Regions from separate parts of the Homo sapiens genome. Here regions 2, 3, 4 and 5 are each linked to region 1. Evidence: promoter capture Hi-C in 16 types of primary human blood cells and fetal thymus (Javierre and others, 2016). All regions are on one chromosome and are shown on one strand. Each heading gives the region's core, a stretch centred on a gene start or on the middle of the fragment in contact. The rest is flanking DNA. Distances are from core to core; before and after follow the strand shown.

Region 1 (2,858 bases), core at 236-2,735:
GGAACAAGTTGCCTGCCAGGACAACGATGCCCTGGGAGGACTCTAGTTCAGCCCAGAGGTCAGCTGAGCCCTAGAGGGCAGCCTCCTCTGAGAACACAGGGCCCGTGAGGCCTTGGGGACAGCTCATGGGACTAATACTCACCTTTTAGGCTTCTTGGCAGGATTGGGAAAGTCAATCTCATCTGGGCTGTTGAAGTCAACACCTAGAACATACTGGATTGTTAAGCTCATTTCTGTTGGGTGCAGGTGGGTCCCTGGGCTGACCTATCATTGGTTTCTCTGGGAATAATTTCTCAAAGACTAAAACTGCTCACCTCTGTTGGAGAGAGAAATTCTTTCAAGTGGCAAAGATTCCATTAGATCCCCTTAATGAAATTCTTTAAGAAAAAAGAAGGTTCATTTGCCTTAATCAAGTCAATTCTTTGTCCCCAGTGAAGAGCTTATTGAATACAGACAGAAACCAAGTCCTTTGATATTGAACCTCTCTTCCAGATAGACCAGAAGGATTTTGTACAGATGTCTAAGAGTGGTCCTCAGCTTCCCTGACCATATGGGCCTGCTTGCTTCCCAATCAACTAAACCAAGCCCTTTCTCAGCTTGAAAGCTTTCAGGGTAAATGTTGTCAGCATGTAGTTTCCATTTGTGATGTGGAGACATCTGACCCACCCAGCCTTAGGCATTCATCCTCCTCAGTGTAGCCAGAGTATTAGTACACGAGCCACAAGGGACCAACGAGCTCACCAAACATTTGTCCATCCTTCTGGGACCTGGGAATTTAGTCTTTGCAGGTGTTTCTTGTTTTTCTCCTTGGCCTGGGTTGGCCTCTGGATATCAGGCTGCCATATTGGTGTGTCTGACCCATGCTTGGCTGCAAGGCAGCTGCCATCCTTGGGCATCTTTCCTGGTCATGTGTGTTCCTAGGTTGTGAAGAGCAGGGGACCATCAGAGTCCTGGCAGCTGACAATAAATCTCCGTTCTTTTGTCCACAGAGGATCAAATTCTCTCAGAACTTGGCCACACCAATAGGATTTATGGCAACGTGGGGGACGTTACAGGCGGACAGTTAATGAATGGGAGCTTCTCCATGGACGGGACAGGACAATCCTATCAGGACTTGAGGGATGGGAGCCCCTATGGAATCCCCCAGTCTCCATCCTCCATATCGTCCCTGCCATCCCACGCTCCTTTGCTCAATGGGCTGGATTACACGGTGGACAGTAATTTGGGCATCATTGCGCATGCAGGGCAGGGAGTAAGCCAGACGCTGAGAGCCATGGCTGGGGGACCCACCTCTGACATCTCCACAGGAAGCAGTGTAGGCTATCCCGACTTTCCAACTAGCCCAGGCTCTTGGCTCGATGAAATGGATCATCCTCCTTTTTAAACTTCTCTCCTCCCCACCCTACCTGCCCCCCTGGCTTGAGAGAATATCTTCAAGGATCAAAAGAGACTTGCCTTTTAAGGATCGAAAGTACGCCAATGTGAATTTCCATTATTTTCAATGGAAGTCCTCCGCTGATTCCTAGAAGGCTGTGAGACCACACTAGGGCATTGTTTCCCTGGGGAAGCAGTGGGAGAGCAGACTCATCTCAGAACACAGCACAGGGGGTAATGGCCTAGAGCTCTAGGGACACTGGCTTGTTGGGTCTCTCCCCTGCTGTTCTGCTTAGGGGCTTGGCTGCTCAGTGCTTTGGTAGCACAAGGTGACTGTGATAGGCCCCCTTGGCCTTTGGGAACTTTGCTCCAACTGGTGTGTCTCACACAATGCCTCCCAAAACACTGCTCTCACCAGAACTGAGACTCCTAAGGTAGAGGCCTCACAGCCCTTGAGTAAAATAAAAGTGATTTCTGGACCATCCTTATTGAACCCTATATTTCAAAATGAAAAGATCAGTTATTAAAGGTCAGTGAACACTTTGATGGCCAGTTTGATATTAAAAACATGCCCCCTCCTTTTTTATTTTTGCTGTGAAGATATGAATTCTTTCCTACAAACCAGAGAATATGAACCTGTTTTGGTTTTTAAGTGTCCCATCTATATCATTGACTCTGATGGCAAGAGGTGGTTTTCATTGCAGGTGACTGAGGCTGAGCTGAGTAGCCCTGGACCACCGCTGCAGATTGCCTGAGTCGTCCCCTTGGTGCACAGTGTGCCTTCTTCAATTGCTTGTATCATTTATTCCACAAGACAGGCTGTGGGCTGTAAAATGAGCAAAACTAAAATGTGGGGAGAACAAAATGACAATCAATCAGTGAACATTTGTAGACACATTTGGATTCCAAACCTGCAGTCTGTTCAGCCATATCGGCTGATGCCAGTCTTCCAGAGTTCCCCATCCCTTGTAGGGTGAAATATTTGGAGTCTGTTTTGAAGGAGTTGGTTTAGATGAGCTTGCAAGTCTACCCCTCTGAAAGCTTTCTCTGCTGTCCTAGCTGACTCAATTGGAGGACAGTTTTGGTCATTTCCAGGAACCAGCAATTTTTTTTTGGCCTACCTTGGTTGGGAAGAGTAATTTAGGGAGCAGCCCTAAAATTGTCCAAAGGGTTCTAAGTGGTTCTTGGGCTGCATCTCTCTGGATTGCTGGCTGGACACCTGCCATGCCTTGGGCTGCAGTCCCATGGTCAGAAAGCCAGAACTCTCTGGCCAGTGGTGGTGCAGGGACTCCCCGTTGTGCAGGTTTGCAGTAGCAAATCACTAAGCCTGAGGCCAGAGCAAGGCCAACCCCCGCTTTACGAGTTGCCACTCCTGCGACAGACTGCACTGCTGTGGGAAACGCTGTCCTGAATGGTGCTGCAGCTCCCACCCACCTTGTGCACCCATCTACCATCAGGAAGCTCTCCATGTGCAAACTGGAATT
Region 2 (2,858 bases), core at 142-2,641, 220 kb after region 1:
TAACTGCTAAAATGTTTGGCCTTAATATTTTTATTGAAAAAAATTCAATTTGCATTTTTTACATGGTACAATGCAACCTCTATCTCACTGAAATACCTGTTAATCATTTAACAATATTCTTAAATAGTAACCTCACCTTTATTAAATTCTTTCTAGATGTTCTCCAATAAGTATATGAGAAAAACAGGGTATATTTAAGTGAACAATATCCAATGCTTCCAAAGTCCAAAGCAATCCCTTTTCCTGCTGGATTCCCTAGCATTTACATTATTATTGTTTTATACTATTAAAGATATATATTTTGATATGTTTTATCTTCTCTATTACACTTTAAACTACATAATGGCAGAAATCATGTCTTATTCATCTTTTATCCCTAATAAGCATTTTGCCCTTGCATAGAAAGTGATCATAAAAACGAAATCCAAGAGTAACCTTTTTTCCAGCATGATAATCTCAAGTTAAACTCTTTCCAATTCTTATGTAATTCAAATTTTTCTGCTTTCAAAAACTCTGCAACTCAGAGAAGTTCTCAGCATCAGTAGCTGGTTATATTACTATTTAAGTAATTATTATTAATTTTTTTCATTTTTCTGAGATGGAGTCTCACACTGTCACCCAGGCTGGAGTGCAGTGGCCTGATTTTGGCTCACTGCAGCCTCAGCCTCCCAGGTTCAATTGATTCCCCTGCCTCAGCTTCCTGAGTAGCTGGGATTACAGGTGTGTACCACCACGTCCAGCTAATTTTTGTATTTTTAGTAGAGATGAGATTTCACCATGCTGGCCAGGCCGGTCTTGAACTCTTACCTCAGGTGAACCACCTGGCTTGGCCTCCCAGAGTGCTGGGATTACAGGTATGAGCCACCACACCTGGCCAGCAATTATTTTATTAGATAAATATTACAATAACTTTAAAATATTTCAAGAAAGTAAAACTTTAAGCATGTTACTTAAAACTAAGTTTAGTTTTAGACATTTATTTCAGAGAAGGATCATAAGTTTTTGGAAAGTATTATTTATAATCATTAAGTCTTACCTGAGGATTCCAACCTGGATCTAGTTTTTTAACTACTGCGATATATTCCTGCATTGCTTGGCTGGGGCTTGAATCACCAAGTGCTTTCCAAGCTTCCCTACAATATGGAATATCCAAAATGGCCTGTCATTATGCAAATAACACAAACAGCATTTTTCTTATTATTAAAAAAACTGTATGCACATTTCAAGGGTCTCTGAATATAGAGATAATAAGCTATGGATAGAGAAGCTCTGTCTTTTTGCATTTACATTGGTCTAGAGCTATACAGACCTTATTGCCCTACCTAAGCAGTCTTTTCAGACATTTTTTTTCCTAATCGTCCTCCCCGTGAAATTTTAAAAACACAGATACAATGCATAGCTATTAAATTTTGAAAGACCACAAACCACTGTAATCTAAGATTTTATAATTTCCTCAAACAAAATTTCACCCCTATTGAGGATATATGATCTACAGACTAATAGAGATTATTCTCATAAATTAACTGTGCTTATGGCATTTTGGTCGTACAGAAACTAATCATCACATAAAAAACAATATTCCCAAGGAAAATGCATCAAACTTCTTACTAAGATACAAGAAATCCACCTTCCCTTTCTGCTGTTATCTCATCTATAAGCTTCTAGTAACTGATCCTGGGGACTTAGTCTGGGACTTCAAAAGTAAGGGATGGTGAGGGCAGAAATAAGAATACTGGCCAGGCTTGGTGGCTCACGCCTGTAATCCCAGCACTTTGGGAGGCTGAGGCAGGTGGACCACCTGAGGTCAGGAGTTTGAGACCAGCCTGGCCAACATGGTGAAACCCCATCTCTACTAAAGATACAAAAATTAGCCAGGCGTGGTGGTGTGCGCCTGTAGTCCAGCTACTCTGGAGGCCGAGGCAGGAGAATTGCTTGAACCTGGGAGGCAGAGGTTGCAGTAAGCTGAGATGGCACCACCACACTCCAGCCTGGGCAACAGAGCAAAATTCTGTCTCAAAAAAAAAAAAAAAAAAAAAAAAAAAAAAACAACAACAGCAACTAAAGAATACTAATGAGTAAGTTAGGGACTTCCTACAATATAAATGGCAAAAGCAACATTTTAGTCCTGAGCTTCCTTTTGGGTCATCTACCCCCCTGCCCCCACAACAGGCTGCCAGGACAGGCCTTCTTCTTGGTTTTTCCCTGCCAATTCTTTCTAAATTCCAACCAGTGTTTCTCGATTTCCCTGATTTGCTGTCAAACAGAACTCAATCCCACATTTTTTCACTACCTTCCTGCTTCTATGATGAATATAATATCTTTCTGAGGTTTTCTAAATTTATTTTCACTGAATTCCTTAAGAATTACTTATACGCATCATAACACTTCATCCCTAAATAGATCAGCTTACACAAACTCAGGAAATTTATCATCAATTACTATTATACAATATAGAGGCTATACATTCAGATTTTCCTGATTGTCCCAATAATGTCCTTTATGGCTTTCTTCTCCCACACCAGGAACCAATCAAGATCCACACACAGCATTGAGTTTCATGTATCTTCAGCTTTTTTGTCTTCCACATTGTTGGTATTTTTTAAGAGTCCAACTGTTTTATAACATATCCCTCAATTTGAATTTGTCTAATTGTTTCCTTACCTACAGTGTTCTTGCCAAAAATGATTAATCATGATTAGAATTGGGTTAAATTATTTCAGCAGAGTAATATATAGGTGACATGCCCTTTTCAATGCATCACACTGGGGGCACGTGATGTTAGTCTGTCCCATCATCAATAAGATTCATGGTTTGGTAACGGCAGTAACTGTCAGGTTTCTCTCTCATAATTAAAAAGT
Region 3 (2,858 bases), core at 158-2,657, 170 kb after region 1:
TAGTTCCTCTTTCTAATGCAACTGCACAAATACACATGTTAGAATACACATGGTCACAATGTTTTGTGGGGAAATAAAAAGATTATATCTTAGGCAGAAATAATATTTTAAAAATAACCTGCCATTATCAGATTGAATCCAGAATAAAGATGCCAAAGATGCGTTAGTTTTCCTTTCTATACACTTCATCTACCAGAGTGGATAAACTTTGGCTACTTTACCCTCTTGATATCCACTCCAGTGAAATTTCTTTCATAGAGGCTTAGAAGTTTATTCCATTTCTCTCTACTCAAAATCCATTAAGTCACTTTTATGTTGCATCAGCAATTAAATAGAGTCCAATTTGGCAGCGAACAGGATAAAATTTGCCAGTTCTTACATTGCCTGAGACTCTATTAGTTGAGAAACTAAAATGCTCCTTCACTCAAAAGGGAAAGGATAAGTTGTTGGCTAAATCTTTATCACTTGATTCAGACTCCACCTTAGTCAGTTTTAGAGTCAAGATTTAAAGCCTTGTGAAACTTTTTCTTCTATTCCTAAGATTATCAAGCTAATCTATGCAAAGAGGTTTCTTGCTTCTGTGTGCTACCTTTTTTGGATTTGTTTTACTGTTTTGTTTAATTCATTTATAGTCTAACTGTAGAATGCTGGGAAAATTAATCTACTTCTTTGCCTCAGTTTCCTCATTTGTAAAAATGGGAATAATAGTACCTATTTCATACCTATTTATATTTATACATAAATAAAACAGTATCCAGTGCAAAGTGGCCATTTTGTAAGTGTTAGCTAATACAATAATTATTATTGCCCAAAACATGGCCATTTCTCCAACGCAAAAGTGTTTCAGCAATATAGATACAAGATGTTGTGATGTGGGGACTTAAAATATTGACCTATGGTCTTTACCTAATAGCTCTAAACTCCTGATTCTCTTGATAAAACAACAACAAATCCCCCAAACAAACCAATCATAAAAACTCTAACATACTTCGTTATAAGAAAAAGAGATAGAAAACTAATACTTAAGGAATATTTTCTATGTGCTTATACTATCCAACTTCCACTTCAAAACGAGTCTATAAAGCTGGCATTATCACTGTATTTTATTTAATCTAAGATATCCTCAATTATAAGAAGCACCATTATTTTCTGTAATGTTCAGAAAGAAAAACTAGCCAATTAAATATAATACACTAAGACTCATACAGATTTCAAAAATATTAAAAACTGAATAAATGTCTGCCTTAGATTTGGCCAGGTGCAGTGGCTCATGCCTTTAATTCCAGCACTTTGAAAGGCTGAGGAAGGAGGATCACTTGAGCTCAGGAGTTCAAAACCAGCCTAGACAACATGGTGAGACCCTGTCTCTACAAAAGAAAAAAAAAAGATTTGATGAAATATAAGTAAATATTTATTTTACAGATTCAAAAACTGAAAAGAGGTGAAGTATCCAATGCCACAGAAGTGGCAGAATTGGGATTCACACCAAGATCCTTTGATATTCCAAAGCCTGTGTTCTATTAAATTACATTATATTACTTCTCCAAGCTATTTTGGAAACCATTATTACATACTGACAATATTCTAAATTAAAATTTTGTCTGTTTCTTAAGTGTACTTTTTTTTGGGGGGGATGGGGTCTCATTCTGTCACCCAGGCTGGAGTACAGTGGGTGATCTTGGCTCATTCAACTTCTGCTTCCCAGGCTCAAGGGATCTCCTCCCACCTCAGCCTCCCAAGTAGCTGGGACCACAAGCAAGCACCATCACGCCGGGATAATTTTTTTTTTTTTTTGTATTTTTGGTAGAGACAGGGTTTTACCATGTCACCCATGCTGGTCTTTAACTCCTGGGCTCAAGCGATCTACCCACCTCAGCCTCCCTAAGTGCTGAGATTACAGGTGTGAGCCACCACACCCAGCCTTAAGTGTACTTTTAAAATGTTTACATAAAGTACTCCATTAGTTCAAAGAGAAAACTTTAAACATTTTTGAAGCAAAATTATTCTGATAAATTATGCATAATTTAGTTGCTAGATTAATACTATCATTCTAAACCCTTAAAAGAGGAACACTTTTCTGATAATCCTTTTGAAATACTAAATTTTTTCCTGAAACATGAATAGCTATTCATTTCAAGTAGAAAAGTAAGAATATTGGTTTCATCTCATCTACCATTTGTCACAGCATTAAAAAGAAAACTTTACCATGAAAATATTGTTGGTTGCTACTTATAACAGTAATATTTATAAAATTTTTCAAGAAAGGGGAACTCCATAAACGTATGTTTTTAACCTGTTTCTCTTAAAATTACAAACACACAGCAATATTTTAAAAAATCATCTCCTACAACCTTTAAAAAACAGACATTTAGCCAGGTGCAGTCTCATGCCTGTAATCCTAGCACTTTGGGAGGCAGAGGCAGGCGGATTACCCGAGGTTAGGAGTTTGAGACCAGCCTGGCCAACATGGTAAAACCCCATCTCTACTAAAAATACAAAAATTAGCTGGGCATGGTGGTGCATATCTGTAATCCCAGCTACTTGGGAGGCTGAAGCAGGAGTATTGCTTGAACCCGGGAGGGAGAGGTTGTAGTGAGCTGAGATAACCCCCGACAGTCCAGCCTGGGTGATAGAGTGAGACTCTGTCCCAAAACAAACAAACAAAAAAACCCAGACATTTATAAAAATGTCAGTTCTCTAGAAATGTTGCATAAATGCTTAAATTAGCATTGGAAAATAATTTTAAATAAAAGCAATGAGAACAGAAATGATATGAACAAGTATTTTATCCAATCCTCCAAATTTCAGCCTTTCCTAATATTTTTTGTATATATACTACATACACTAGCTAACACATT
Region 4 (2,858 bases), core at 232-2,731, 150 kb after region 1:
CACGTTACAGCTTTTTCTCCAATCATATCTCTTTCAGGAAAATTTTAGAGTATAATTTATGCATGACAGGCTTTTATGCTACTTCCAAGTTAGTTCATATTTCACCAAGAATACAAAATTAAAGCATAAAACAATCACTTTCATTCTAATTTTTTATACTTATATTCTTCCATTTATAATCAGGACTAGACAGCAGCCAATGAAAAGATATTTGGGAAATATTTTCAAAATCCATTATTGTTTAAAAATGGAAACTTTATAAGTCAATGATTAAAGCATCTCTTTGAAATTCTACAGGCTTTTGTGTCTGACCACAAGCAGCAACCTCTTGTATTTTCTGCCAAAACACTTCATTTGTCTCACAGAACAACTAATCAATTCCAGAGCCCATCAATCATTTCAGTTGTATACTAGGACTGGTCTTGCTTAGAGAAGGTCCAGATGGCTGTCTGTGTAAGCAGAATTAATAAAATTCTAATAGATTACATGACATCAAACTACAAAATATAACAGGGAGGATCAAATCTTATTGCAGGGTGGTGTGGGTACTGTTCAATCTTCATTTACTACATTTTTAATTCTTACCCTAATTTCTCAATTTATGTGCAAACTTCTAGATCAAACCTTTGAAGCATGCAAGTAACCAGAAGCAATTTCTTGTATATGTAGTGCAGAATCATCTTACTCTACAAACCCCTATGCTTATTGACCAGTACTTTTTCTGCCCATCTGCGGTATAAATGAAAAACAGCTGATCGCAAAACCAGAGGTTACTCCCTGTTATAAGATTTGTTACTCTCGTTTCTATAGTTCTAAAAATATTGGCTCTCCCTTCCTTGTTTTCCATTTTCTTTTGCAAAAGCAAACAACTTGCATTTAATTATATAACCAGAATGCCATGTTATTGTAGCTCCTAACATCAGCTCCTGGCTCCTCTGTAGGGACTCCCTCTGCCGAATAACAATACTATTTATAAAAGCTAACAGTTACACAGTAACTTATTTTGCACCAGGTACTGTTCGAGGATGTCTATGTATTCACATAATCTGCTAAGTATCAAGTGAGATAAGTACTATAATTATCCCCATTTTACAGGTAAGTAACTTGCCCAAGATCACACAGCTAGTAAGTGGTGGAACTAGCATTTGAATGCCAGCGGTTTGGCTCCATAATTTTTTGTACTTAATTAGAATCCCCCTACACCCCCTCAATTATATTACAGAACAATTAACTTGCTTCAGAATGAGAAATTGATGTCAGAGCTCTGCAATATTAACACAGAGATCTGAACCTCTGACATTATATTGATACTTTCTATGACAGAGTAGAAAGCAGGAAGCAAGCTCAGAATTGGCCCCACTGGCCCTTGGCTCAAACTCATAACTCATCATCTATTATACAATACACATTCGTCAGAAAAGCTGCCACAACAATGGAACCCAAACTTAACCAAATGGATTTATTAGATAGTGATTTGCCTGATCTTTACAAATGTAAAAAAAATCTGGAGTTATAAAGTATCAAAACAAACCTTCAAAATACATTATTTTATGTCCTTTTTTAAAAATAACAGTTCCATAGAAAAGAATTTTTGCTTTCATCCAAGTCTACCATTTGATGCTTCTAAAACTCTAAAACCTACTGTCACTTTCGCCTCAGTTAAATATAATTCTGCCAAGAAATTGCAATTAATATCAATTAAAGCACAACTTTCTCTTAGAAAAATAAAACACCAGATATATTTCACCAAAATACAAGCATAATTTGATTACATAACTTCAAGAAATAACCCATTTTCATTGTTGCAATTGCATTCTGATACGTAAGAAACCATACGGACTACATCTGGCTCTTCACTGGAATAATCCAACATTTCAGTACATAAGAATTTTCATGCCAGGCACAGCGGCTCACGCCTGTAATCCCAGCACTTTGGGGAGGCCAAGGCAGGTGGATCACGAGGTCAAGAGATCGAGACCATCCTGGCTAATATGGTGAAACCCTGTCTCCACTAAAAATACAAAAATTAGTTGGGCATGGTGGTGCGCCTGTAGTTCCAGCTACTCAGGAGGCTGAGGCAGGGGAATCGCTTGAATCCAGGAGGCAGATGTTGCAGTGAGCTGAGATCATACCACTGCACTCCAGCTTGGTGACAGAGCAAGACTCTGTCTCAAAAAAAAAAAAAAAACCAAAAACCAAAAAACAACGAATTTTCATTATGGCCTAATTTGTTATAATGGAATTCTACACTATAAAAAGAACTCTCCCAATACAAGAGTATGATTAGTTGCTGTAATTTCTGATCTGCTGTAGTAGTAACAAAATTACTGTGTTTGTAATAGTTAAACAGCTTTCAATGGCTTGCTCACATTCATGTTTCTTACTCTTTCTTAACAATATGTTCAGAATATGAAGATTTAGATGATATCATAAGACTAATACTTAATGAAGACTTCATGAAAAAAAGGCCAAGTCTAACCAATTTTGCCCACAAAGGTTCATATTTCATTCAATTAATATTTATTAAACATACTTTCATGAAAATGCCAAAAGTAGTAAGAACATATTATTCAAAAGTGAAGAAGTTGAGAAGCACAAATATTCCAATGTTTTCTGTCATTATAGGTTCATAATAAATGTGTGTTGAATTGAATTTAAATCTCTACAAAAATAAACTGTATTATTCTTTGTCATTGTTTATCACTGTCAAAATTCTAAATACTGATTTAAATCTAAGAATCACTTCACTAGCAATTGGGTGGGGGATAAAGGAAGGAAGATTAACCCTTTCAATACAGTTTAACTCTATCTCAGGATTTCTACTCTCACTACAACTGGAGTACATTTGATTTGCTTCG
Region 5 (2,858 bases), core at 255-2,754, 130 kb after region 1:
GTTAAAAGTATTTAACTAGAAGTTTAATTTTGAGGCTACACACTTTTAGTCCATCATCAAAGCTTACCAAATTGTTTTATTTGCTAGAGCTTTAAATGTGATGAAGCAATACTATTTATTTTATTTTGGGATGTTAAGTTTGATTTTGATTTTAAGCTCCCACCTCCCTTATGTTCTTAAATTAATTCATACAAATCCCTGATTAATAATAAAAGGGTTTGCCATCAGTATTCAAAGCTCAGCCTGAATTGTCATGGCTGAGAGGGCAGAAATCTGCTTGGAGCAATGAGAGAACCCAACTGAATTCTTGGCGTCTCAGTCTATGAATGTGTAAGCACTTCATCTGTTCATGAAATACAACGTTCTGGCAGGCTGAGGGTAAAGGTAGCTGCATGGTTAACAAACTGGAAGATCTGGAAAGCAGCACTACATCAAAGTAACAAAATGGCAGAAACAATACATTTTGCCAAGTTTTCCTTGTCTTTACACACACAAAATATGTGTTATTTAGTGTAAGCTATCTGTGTTCTAGGCACTTATTCCACCCCTATCACTGTTGTCCATCCAGTGATCTTTGTGGAGGTCACATGTGGATTTGACTTCCAGTAATATTTTATAAAAGAAATTGCTGCAAACCAGAGCATAACACAGGGAAGGCCAAATGACAACTGCTTATCCTTCTTTTTCTTCTTTTTATTTATCCTTCTAAAATCTAGTGGTAGGAAGAATACTCTCCCAGACCTGGTTTCTACTTAGCAGTTATATGGATTTGAGCAAGTAAATGTAGGTCTCTGAACTTCAGTTCCTGTCTGTAAAACAAGGACAATATCTGCCTTAGAGAACTGTTGTAGAGATAATATAGTAATAAGTGAAAGTACTCTGTAAACTATCACATGCATTGTATAAAGTATTATGTGTTATTTGAAAGATAAATATTAACAGGCACCATATAGTACACACAAGATACTTCCAGTGAAAAAACTGTGACTTTGAAAAGTTAAGTGGCCTACTTATTGATTTGTTATATTATCATCATCCTTCACTCATACTATTAATAATAAAAGTAGATAAAATATACAGACTGTCTCAACTGATCCAAAACCCTTTTGAAATATCAGATAAACATAAAGAAATCAAGTAAGAGCATTATCAGAATATATAAATGAGATGGTGTCACTCATCTCATGAGACAGTGATATAAGCAAAAAAACAAATGTTTGTTGCTGTAAGCAACTGAAATTTGGGGGTTGTGCCACAGCAAAAGCTGACTGATACACACAAGTACAATCCACAGCTTAGCAATGAGTATTTACATAGTCATAATAATATTAATATTGATTCAACAGAGATTCAATCAGAAAGCTGAAATTAAAAGTTGTGATATCATATACACCATGGAATACTATGCAGCCATAAAAAATGATGAGTTCATGTCCTTTGTAGGGACATGGATGAAATTGGAAATCATCATTCTCAGTAAACTATCGCAAAGACAAAAAATCAAACACTGCATGTTCTCACTCATAGGTGGGAATTGAACAATGAGAACACATGGACATAGGAAGGGGAACATCACACTCTGGGGACTGTTGTGGGGTGAGGGGAGGGGGACAGATAGCATTAGGAGATATACCTAATGCTAAATGATGAGTTAATGGGAGCAGCACACCAGCATGGCACATGTATACATATGTAACTAACCTGCACATTGTGCACATGTACCCTAAAACTTAAAGTATAATAATAATAAAATAAAATAAAAAAGTTGTGATATAATTACGTTAGGAGGGTCAGAGAGAGAGAGGGAAGATGAGTAAAACAGTTAAATCTAAATATAACACAGAAACAAATCAATAATGTCTAAAGTTGAAAAATCAAGAAATAGAAGTATATTATTTAGAATTATGTAGGTAAGGTGCTAAAGACACATTAAAAGAACTGGAAGTCTGGCCGGGTGCAGTGGCTCACATCTGTAACCCTAACACTTTGGGAGGCTGAGGCAGGCTGATTACTAAAGCTCAGGAGTTCGAGACCAGCCTGGCCAACATGGTGAAACCCCATCTCTACTAAAAATACAAAAATTAGCCAGGCATGGTAGTGCACACCTGTGGTCCTAGCTACCTGGGGGCTGAGGTGGGAGGATCGCTTGAGCCCAGGAGGCAGAGGCTACAGTGAGCCCTGATCATGCCACTGCACTCCAGCCTGAGAATCTGTCTAAAAAAAAGAGAAAATTTTTGCCTTAAAGGAGCTAGAATAAAATGTAAGAAGGATGCAGGTAAGAGAGAATTTTTTTGTTTATAAGACTAATAGTAACATTTGATTTTTTAAAAAAACAAATGTATTAACTTTATAAAAATTTTAACTCACAAGCACAAAGATAAAAAACTACAATTTAAAAAATCAAGGGAAGCAATCATGCCAAATTTATTTAAAAAAGAAAGCTATACAGGCATACCTTGTTCTATTGCACTATGCTTCATTGCACTTTGCAAATACTGTGTTTTTTGTAAATTGAAGATTTGTAGCAACCCTGAGTTAAGCCAACTATTGGTGCCATTTTTCCAACAAGATGTGCTCACTTCATGTCTGTGTCACACTGAGGTAATTCTTGCAATACTTCAAAGTTTTTCATTATTATTATATCTGTTAGGGTAATGATCAGTGATCTCTGATGTTACTATTGTAATTGTTTTGGAGTGCTACAAACCACACTGAGAAAGATGGCAAATTTAACCAACAGATACTTTGTGTGTTCTGACTGCTCCACTGACTGGCTGTTCCTGGTCTCTCCCCCTCTCTTCAGGCTTCCCTATTCACTCAGACACAAAAATATTGAAATTATTAGCCAGTAATACAAT

The links. The method cuts DNA at HindIII sites, captures the fragments that hold promoters and counts their contacts. A CHiCAGO score of 5 or more calls a contact.
Region 2: a contact is called between a fragment that was not itself captured here and the fragment with the promoter of LHX4-AS1 in region 1, in 3 of 17 cell types (endothelial precursors, monocytes and M1 macrophages). The highest score is 5.7, in endothelial precursors.
Region 3: a fragment that was not itself captured here is called in contact with the fragment with the promoter of LHX4-AS1 in region 1 in 1 of 17 cell types (monocytes); the score reaches 5.0 in monocytes.
Region 4: a fragment that was not itself captured here is called in contact with the fragment with the promoter of LHX4-AS1 in region 1 in 8 of 17 cell types (neutrophils, monocytes, endothelial precursors and 5 more); the score reaches 13.1 in neutrophils.
Region 5: a contact is called between a fragment that was not itself captured here and the fragment with the promoter of LHX4-AS1 in region 1, in 7 of 17 cell types (neutrophils, M1 macrophages, M2 macrophages and 4 more). The highest score is 15.8, in neutrophils.

Annotation. Positions count from the first base shown.
Region 1 is chr1:180,273,196-180,276,053 of GRCh38, forward strand. LHX4-AS1 (LHX4 antisense RNA 1) reads right to left here and starts at 1,486. Exons shown (of 5, transcript NR_037642.1): 1 at 1,456-1,486; 2 at 742-917; 3 at 143-203. LHX4 (LIM homeobox 4) reads left to right here. Exons shown (of 6, transcript NM_033343.4): 6 at 990-2,858. The coding sequence ends at 1,384. It also overlaps a transcript of ACBD6 not described here. The HindIII fragment of the contact is 1,811 bases long and covers 603-2,413 here.
Region 2 is chr1:180,491,233-180,494,090 of GRCh38, forward strand. It overlaps ACBD6 (acyl-CoA binding domain containing 6), which reads right to left. Exons shown (of 8, transcript NM_032360.4): 3 at 1,037-1,133. Among named protein-coding and RNA genes, the nearest start is that of ACBD6, 9.9 kb to the right of the region's middle. The HindIII fragment of the contact is 530 bases long and covers 1,127-1,656 here.
Region 3 is chr1:180,444,391-180,447,248 of GRCh38, forward strand. The region is part of intron 3 of ACBD6 (acyl-CoA binding domain containing 6); the gene reads right to left. Among named protein-coding and RNA genes, the nearest start is that of MIR3121, 7.4 kb to the left of the region's middle. The HindIII fragment of the contact is 5,556 bases long and covers 1-2,858 here.
Region 4 is chr1:180,425,747-180,428,604 of GRCh38, forward strand. The region is part of intron 4 of ACBD6 (acyl-CoA binding domain containing 6); the gene reads right to left. LOC105371637 (a long non-coding RNA gene) reads right to left here. Exons shown (of 2, transcript XR_922334.3): 1 at 1-2,858. Among named protein-coding and RNA genes, the nearest start is that of MIR3121, 11 kb to the right of the region's middle. The HindIII fragment of the contact is 3,094 bases long and covers 1-2,858 here.
Region 5 is chr1:180,406,927-180,409,784 of GRCh38, forward strand. All of the region lies in intron 5 of ACBD6 (acyl-CoA binding domain containing 6), which reads right to left. Among named protein-coding and RNA genes, the nearest start is that of MIR3121, 30 kb to the right of the region's middle. The HindIII fragment of the contact is 2,888 bases long and covers 61-2,858 here.